Regions from separate parts of the Homo sapiens genome. Here region 1 is linked to region 2. Evidence: promoter capture Hi-C in 16 types of primary human blood cells and fetal thymus (Javierre and others, 2016). All regions are on one chromosome and are shown on one strand. Each heading gives the region's core, a stretch centred on a gene start or on the middle of the fragment in contact. The rest is flanking DNA. Distances are from core to core; before and after follow the strand shown. Region 1 overlaps HSF2BP (heat shock transcription factor 2 binding protein). Region 2 holds the start of CRYAA (crystallin alpha A).

The links. The method cuts DNA at HindIII sites, captures the fragments that hold promoters and counts their contacts. A CHiCAGO score of 5 or more calls a contact.
Region 1: a contact is called between a fragment that was not itself captured here and the fragment with the promoter of CRYAA in region 2, in 1 of 17 cell types (total CD4 T cells). The highest score is 5.7, in total CD4 T cells.

Annotation. Positions count from the first base shown.
Region 1 is chr21:43,626,061-43,630,571 of GRCh38, forward strand. It overlaps HSF2BP (heat shock transcription factor 2 binding protein), which reads right to left. Exons shown (of 9, transcript NM_007031.2): 6 at 4,262-4,394. Among named protein-coding and RNA genes, the nearest start is that of MIR6070, 18 kb to the left of the region's middle. The HindIII fragment of the contact is 2,248 bases long and covers 2,138-4,385 here.
Region 2 is chr21:43,167,733-43,172,016 of GRCh38, forward strand. CRYAA (crystallin alpha A) reads left to right here and starts at 1,276. Exons shown (of 3, transcript NM_000394.4): 1 at 1,276-1,556; 2 at 2,785-2,907. The coding sequence starts at 1,368. LOC107987300 (a long non-coding RNA gene) reads right to left here and starts at 3,850. Exons shown (of 3, transcript XR_007067885.1): 1 at 3,305-3,850. The HindIII fragment of the contact is 23,635 bases long and covers 1-4,284 here.

The DNA of each region.
Region 1 (4,511 bases), core at 2,012-4,511, 460 kb after region 2:
AGGGAGGGCAATGCAAGCCTGCTACAACTGTAGGTGCCATGATGAACGTATAGAATGCTGCCCTGCACTGGAGTAAGGAATAGCCAGAAAACATCACAGTCTCAGCATCCACCCCGCAAGAACTATCATCAAGTTTTAAAGGATTAAGAAACAAATGTCTACACAGACCTACCCCATTAGGATTTCAATAAAAGAATAACACCAAAAGAAAAATAAAATTTTCTCTCACTTTAACAGCAGAGAATTTTCCTAAGAACAGCATGGGAAAATAATAAAGCAAATAAAGCAGAGATTAAAGATCAATGTAAAAAAAAAAGTCTGAAATTAAATAATTCAAACTTAAAGCTGTTGGGACTTTAAATTATCCCAACCATTGTGAGGAATGTAGATATGCGGCTGCAAATTCTGCATTTTTCTTTCCTGTAAATAATTAAGACCAAACTGCTGAAGATAAGACTTCCTCAGATAACCCTCCTTGGAATGTAGCAATCTATAAACAGTCAAATCACTGTGGCACACACACTGGTCTTGTATGGAAAATGTTCTAATCCTGCTGGAACTTCTCTGTCTCTGCCTATATCAGTGATATCTTCTTCACTTTGGAACCCTGACCCCACTGGTTTGAAGTTGGTGTTTCTGAGTGGCCACCGTCAAGCTCTGTGCACAAATAAACTCTGTACTTAGTCATATTTTCTGAATCTCGTTAAGGCTGATAAGTCACAGCAATGTATTGAACCATTTCACTGACTTCAGAACAAAGAGCCTCAATACTCACTAGTACATTCCACCTCTTTCTATACCAAGAAATTTTTTTTTTTTTTTTAAGAGACGGAGTCTTGCTCTGTCACCCAGGGTGGAGTGTAGTGGCACGATCTCAGCTCACTACAACCTCCACCTCCCAGGTTCAAGCAATTCTCCTGCCTCAGCCTACTGAGTAGCTGGGATTACAGGTGTGCGCCACCACGCCTGGCTAATTTTTTTGTATTTTAATAAAGACAGGTTTCCCCATGTTGGCCAGGCTGGTCTCGAATTCTTCCTGACTTCAAATGATCCACCCGCCTCAAGCCTCCCAAAATGCTGGGATTACAGGCGTAAGCCACCATGCCTTGCTTCTATACTGAGAAATTATTTAGTTCCTGGACTTTATCCCTTATGATAGTTCTGAGACGGAATTTTATCATAACTCTCAGGGAAAGGTTTACTTTATTATCTTTTAGGAGAATTTTACTGAAGAGGCAATTTAGGTTTTTGGAATTATATAATTATTATACTAAAACAACAGCAAAGAGCTCAGCTTAAGCTTAGCTTAAGGCTTTTACTTTAGCTAGCCAGACAGTAAAATTATGATTCTGAATAAAAGCAGCTAAACTTACTTGTTTTTTTCTGTCAAGGTACATAACTACACAGAACATGCAAACTCATCTGTTTCCTTCAGATCATTCATTCTTAATAACTGATACTTATCAGAATCACCTGGGGTGATTTTCCAAAATAAACATACCCGGTACCTATCCCAGAACTATGGAATCAGATTATCCAGGGTGCTCCCCAGCATTAATATCTGAAAACACTCCTGAGAGATGTTTACACACTCTCAACCCTGACTGTAAACACCAGTCTCTGTAACAGTCACTACAGCTGAAAAGAATTACAGGCACATTTCGTTTTATTGCATTCACTTTATTGTGCTTTGCAGATACTGTTTTTTTACAAATTGAAGGAATGTGGCAACCCTACATTGAGCAAGTCTGTTGGTGCCATTTTTCCAACAGTGTGTGCTTAATTCATGTCTCTGTGTCACATTTTGGTAATTCTTGCAATAGTTGAAACTTTTTCATTATTATTACATCTGTTATGGTCATCTGTGATCAATGATCTTTGATGTTACCACTGTAATTGTTTTAGGGCACCATGAGCCACACCCATGTAAGACAGCAAATTTAATCAATACATGCTACTTATCTTCTGATTTTTCCAATGACTGGCCATTCCCGTTTCTCTCCCTCTCCTAGGAACTTGCTATTCCCTGAGACACAACAATACTGAAATTCGGACAGTTAATAACCCTACAATGACCTCTAAATGTTCAAGCAAAAGGAAAAGATACATATCTGAAAGCAAAAGCTAGAAATGATTAAGCTTAGTGAAGGCATGGCCAAAGCTGAGACCTGCTGAAAGTTAGACCTCTTGTGCCAAACAGCCAAGTTATGACTGCAAATGCAAAGTTCTCGATAGAAATTAAAAGCTCTATTCCAGTGAACACATGAATGATAAGAACGCAAAACAGCCTTATTGCTGATATGGAGAAAGCCCAAGTATTCTAGACAGAAGATCAAAAATCATCAAAAATCCCTTAAGCCAAAGCCTAATTCAGAGAAAAGCCCCAATGCTCTTCAATTCTGTGAAGGCTGACAGGGGTAAGGAAGCTGCAGAAGAAAAGCTGGAAGCTAGTACAGGTTGCTTCATGAGGTTTAAGGAAAGAAGTTGTCTCCATAACATAAAAACAACGTGCAGCAGCAAGTGCTGATGGAGAAGCTGCAGCAAGTTATCCAGAAGATCTAGCTAAGATCACTGCCGAGGGTGGTTACACTAAACAAGAGATTTTCAATGTAGACAAAGTCGCTTTCTATTGGAAGAAGACGCCATCTAGGACTTTCACCGCTAGAGAAAAGTCAATGCCTGGCTTCAAAGCATCAAAAGACAGGCTGACTCTCTTGTTAGGGGCCAATGGTGCGGGTGACTTTAATTGAAGCCAATGCTCATTTAACCATTCTGAAAATCCTAGAGCCCTTAAGAATTATGCTAAATCTACTCTTGCCTATGCTCTAGAAATAGAAAAACAAAGCCTGGATGACAGCACACCTGTTTCCAGCATGGTTTACTGAATATTTTCAGCCCACTGTTGAGACCTACTGCTCAGAAAAAAAGATTTCTTTCAAAACACTACTGTTCATTGACAATGCACCTGGTCAATCAAGAGCCATGATGGAGAGGTACAAGGAAAGTAATGTTGACTCCATGCCTGCTAATACAATACCTATTCTTCAGCTCATATATCAAAAAGAAATTTCAACTTTCAAGTCCTATTTTTTTTAAGAACTACATTTCATAACGCTACAGCTGCCATAGACAGTGATTCCTCTGATGGATCTGGGTGAAGTAAACTGAAAACCTTCTAAAAAGGATTCACCATTCTAGATGCCATTAAGAATATTCATGATTCAGCCAAGCGCAGTGGCTCATGCCTATAATCCCAGCACTTTGGGAGGCTGAGGTGGGCAGATCACCTGAGGTCAGGAGTTCAAGACCAGCCTGGCCAACATGGAGAAACCCCATCTCTACTAAAAATACAAAATTAGCTGGGCATGGTGGCGCATGCCTGTAATCCCAGCTACTTGGGAGGCTGAGGCAGGAGAATCACTTAAATACAGGATGTGGAGGCTGCAGTGAGCCGAGATCACGCCGTTGCACTCCAGCCTGGGCAACAAGAGAATATTCATGATTCATGGGAGGAGGTCAAAATAACAACATTAACAGGAGTTCGGAAGAAGTTGATTTCAATCCTCATGGATGACTTTGAAGGGTTCATGACTTCAGTGGAGTAAGTAACTACAGACGTGGTGGCAGAAAAAAAGGATAAGTTGCTTCTTATGGAAGAACAAAGAAAGTGGTTTCTTGAGATGGAATCTACTCTTGGTGAAGATGCTAAGACATTGTTGAAATAAGAACAAGAGATTCAGAATATTACATAAACTTAGTTGACAAAGCAGCAGTAAGGTTTGAGAGGGCTGACTCCAATTTTGAAAGATGTTCTACTGTGGAAAAAATGCTATCAAACAGCATCACATGCTACTGAGAAATCTTACATGAAAGGAAGAATTAATCAATGTGGCAAACTTCATTGTTCCTTATTTTAAGAAATTGGCACAGCCACCCCAACCTTCAGTAACTACCACCCTGATCAGTTAGCAGTCATCAATATCACGGCAAGACCCTCTACCAGCAAAAAATTGTAACTTGCTGAAGGCTCAGATGATCATTAGCATTTTTAGCAATAATGAATTTTCTAATTAAAGTTTGTACATTTTTTAGACATAATGCTATTGTACATACAACAGACTACAGTATAGTGTAAACATAATTTGTATATGCACTGGGAAACCAAAAACATTCATGTGACTCATGTATTATTGCAGTATTTGCTTTACTGCAGTGGTCTGGAAGCAAACAGGCAACATCTCTCAGGTGCGCCTGCACTTACTCGTGACAATTCCAGCCAGAGCGAAAACAAACTGACTTTCATCCGAATCCAGCTCCTGGACATCACCGTCTAACGACTTCACAAAACTCTCCATTGTTTGACCAGTGATGCTGAAAAACTTCAAAGCTTTATCCTGAAAGTTTGAAAATCAGAGTGTCATATCTTTTTACAGACACTAGTGTGAAAACATTTTAAAAGTGCAGGATACAGAAGATTCTAGTTTTAATTGTAGAATATTGTAAAATCTATT
Region 2 (4,284 bases), core at 26-2,525:
TCCTACACTTTGAGAGGCCAAGGCAGGTGGGTCACCTGAGGTCAAGAGTTTGAGACCAGCCTGGCCAACACGGTGAAACCCTGTCTCTACTAAAAATACAAAAATAATAATAATAATAATAATAATAATAATTAGCCAGGTGTGGTGGCAGGCACCTGCAGTCTCAGCTACTCAGGAGGCTGAGGTGGGAGAATTGTTTGAACCTGGGAGGCAGAGGTTGCAGTGAGCTGAGATCGCGCCACTATATGATCTGGGCGCCACTCTGGGTGACACAGCAAGACTCCATCTCAAAAACAAACAAACAAAACCGGGAGTGCCTGGACACTTAGTGAGAACTGGACAGGGGCCATGGGTCGAGGAGCAAAATAATCACCAGGACTTGTGGATAACAGGATCATGTGGGTGGTGGGTCCGCATGGGTGACAGGGACGTGGGGACATGTCGCCACCCTGACAGGAGCAGCCCAACTCAACAGCCACGGCAGGTCATGCCACGGAGGCTCGAGGCGTTACGTGGGGATGTTACATCAAGGCATTACATCATTACGAGATGTAACGCTCGAGGCGTTACATCGAGGGGACGATGGCCATGGGGCTGGGCGTCCAGGGTGGGCCGCAGAGGGAAGCTCACCACGTGGTGCTCTCATCTGCCCACAGCCCAGCCCGTCTTCCTGTTGGAGGCATGTGACCCCTGGAGGACAAGCATGAAACGCCATAGGGCTCCCCCAGGTGCTGGAATTATGGCACCTTGCAGCTTCTTCTCCACGAGTTTTAACAAGCATGCGTACTTTTGTAAGTGGTGAGTGTAACGGAGGTTCACAGATGCACTCCGCTTTGGAAACCAGTGCACTCTTGCCCAGGCCCGGTGAGACTCTGAGGACGATGTGTCTAACCTCTGTGTCTAACGGGGGTGTGTGCTCTCCCTCCTCTGGCGACCATGAGGACCACCCCGGCAGGACAAGGTGTGCAGAGAACTAGCATGGTCCCTGGCACGTAGCCCCTGCCCAGTGACTGGCAGATGAGAAGCTCCATTGTCGCCCCAGGCGAGTATGGGGCACAGGCGCCTCCTTGGGTTGTCTGCCCTCCCGGGAGCCCCAGGGTGCCCAGGCGGGCCTCAGCTGAGTCCAGGCCTCGGGGACAGTCCGTGCAGCCCCTCCTGGGGCTGGGGGCGGGCACTTGTCCCAGCCACGTTTCTGCTGACTGAGCAGCCTTCTTCATGAGCTCACGCCTTTCCAGAGAAATCCCTTAATGCCTCCATTCTGCTGGTGGCATATATAGGGAGGGCTCGGCCTTGGCTCCACACTGCGCTGCCCAGAGGCCCCGCTGACTCCTGCCAGCCTCCAGGTCCCCGTGGTACCAAAGCTGAACATGGACGTGACCATCCAGCACCCCTGGTTCAAGCGCACCCTGGGGCCCTTCTACCCCAGCCGGCTGTTCGACCAGTTTTTCGGCGAGGGCCTTTTTGAGTATGACCTGCTGCCCTTCCTGTCGTCCACCATCAGCCCCTACTACCGCCAGTCCCTCTTCCGCACCGTGCTGGACTCCGGCATCTCTGAGGTAAGACGTGGCCCGTGGTGCTGGCCTCTCCTCGCTGCTCAGAGGGTGGTGGCCTCGGTGGGTGGAGAGCGATGGACTCTGGTCTTGCTCCGTCAGGCAGGTGGCCTCGTCCCACTTCATCCCCTTGCAGAGGCTGGGCGAGAGCCTGTGTCCCCACTGCAGCCACGTGGCAGAGCTTCCCCTGGCACTGGGGAGAGGGTGGACAAGGGAGCAGCCTGAATCCACCTTTGCTTTCCTCCATCAGCTCATGACCCATGTGTGCTTTGTAAGGCACCAGCCACATACTGGAAACCCCAAGAGCAGCCCATCCAGGCATGCGTGGTGGCGAATGCCAGCTCCCGGGTTCCTCTGGTCTCCTGAGTCCCGGAGACCTGGGAGCAGGTGGGGGTCATAGTCCTGAAAGCCAGAGAGCAGGGCGTTCCTAGCACCTCCTCCAATGAGCTCGGCCTGCCCACGGCTAGCAAAGCTCTTGGCAAGTTTACTTAGGTGCCCTGCCAAGGCTAAAAGGACAGGCAATGGACGCCCCCCCCCCCACCCAACCACAGGCCTCCTCTCTGAGCCACGGGTGAGCGGTGCAGGTTCTGCTGTTCTGGAGGGCCTGAGTCCCACCCAGCACCTCATAAACAGGGTCCTCCCCAGGGCTGCTGCAGTAGGCATCAACGCCAGGGTGCAAAATGCCTCAGGGAGCCAAGGCTGAGCCAGGGGAGTGAGAAGGAGCATGTGGAAGTGCGTTTTGGAGAGGCAGCTGCGCAGGCTGTCAGCAGGCTCCGGCCGCTTCTATAGACAGCATGACACCAAGGGCAGTGACCTCATTCCACAGGCTGAGTCCAGCCAGCCAGCCAAGCATCACCAGCCAGACGATTGACCCTAACGGACCAACCAACCCGTAACGACCCCTCCTACCATAACCAGTAGCCAGCCAGCCCATAACCAGCCAACTTATCTATAACCAGCCACCTGACCATAGCCAAACAACCAGCCGGCCCACCAGTAGCATTCAGCCCCTCAGCTGGCCCTGAGGGTTTGGAGACAGGTCGAGGGTCATGCCTGTCTGTCCAGGAGACAGTCACAGGCCCCCGAAAGCTCTGCCCCACTTGGTGTGTGGGAGAAGAGGCCGGCAGGTGACCGAAGCATCTCTGTTCTGATAACCGGGACCCGCCCTGTCTCTGCCAACCCCAGCAGGGACGGCACCCTCTGGGCAGCTCCACATGGCACGTTTGGATTTCAGGTTCGATCCGACCGGGACAAGTTCGTCATCTTCCTCGATGTGAAGCACTTCTCCCCGGAGGACCTCACCGTGAAGGTGCAGGACGACTTTGTGGAGATCCACGGAAAGCACAACGAGCGCCAGGTGAGCCCAGGCACTGAGAGGTGGGAGAGGGGGGCGAGTTGGGCGCGAGGACAAGGGGGTCACGGCGGGCACGACCGGGCCTGCACACCTGCACCATGCCTTCAACCCTGGGAGAGGGACGCTCTCCAGGGGACCCCGAATCAGGCCTGGCTTTTCCCCAAGGGAGGGGCCGTGCCCACCTGAGCACAGCCAGCCCCTCCCGGTGACAGAGGTCACCATTCCCGAGCTAATGTGGCTCAGGGATCCAGGTTAGGGTCCCTTCCCGGGCTGCACCCAGCCGTCGCCAGCTCCATCCCTGTCACCTGGATGCCAGGGTGGTCTTAGAAAGAACCCCAGGAAGTGGGAGTGCCCCGGGTGGCCGCCTCCTAGCCAGTGTACATCTTCACATGAACCCTACCTGAGGAAGCCAGTCCCCGACGGCATAGCTGCATCCGCTTGGAATGCTTTACAGGCATTGACACCTTCGCCTCACAGCAGCACTTTGGAACCAGTGTCCTCATTATTCCAGGGCACGGCTGGGGAACAAGGGGGTCCTCAGCCTGCTGGGTCCCACAGCTAGTACCGGGCAGGTGGACGGGAGCTTCTCCCCACAGTCACCCTGATGCCCCGCTCTTGCTCGGCTGGAGGCCTCGGATCTCCGTGGTGTTGAGGGAGCCGGGGCACTGGAGCCCTGGTGACCTGCATCTCCTGGCGGAGCCGGGAAGAGCTCATGGACTGTCACAGATGGACAGTGCCCCGCGGGGGCTGGAGAGCAGAGTGGGGCTGGAAGGTGGAACTCTTAGCCAAAGTCTTGGTTTCTTTTGGCCAGGGTCCTCTTTCAATGGCTGGAGAAGGTGGTGCTGGGGGGTGAACGCTGACCTCCTCATGTGCTGCCCCTCCCTCGCCTGGGCCCGGTAAAGCCCCCACGTAGCCCCAGCCAGCCTGGAACATGCTTCCTGAGCTCCCAGCTCTTGGTCTTTGCACCCAGTGGAGGAGGAGGTCAGCCCAGGGAGCTGAGTCTGCGGTTTAGGGCGTCCAGGGGACGTGGAAGCATGTGGGTCGTCTGGCCACATTAGGTAGGGCTGCAGAGACCTGGGCTAGAGCAGTCCTGCGGGGTCTGGAAGGGGAAGACTGGCTGAGGTGCGGGGCCTGGTCTGGAATGATCCTGCGATTTTGGAGTGAAGCCATGGAGCGGGAAGAGACAACCCCCCGCGGGGAATAGCCCGGCAAGTGGCCACGAGGCCAGGCTGAGGTCCAGAGAAGCAGGGGCATGAATCCATAAATCCCAGGGGGCCTGGCCATGGGATGTGCTGGCTGCACCCGGCCCCTGTGAGAGCCCCCGCAGGCTGGCCCCCTTCTGCAGTCAGTGGGGCTGGGGCAGCTTCTCTGGCATGGGGC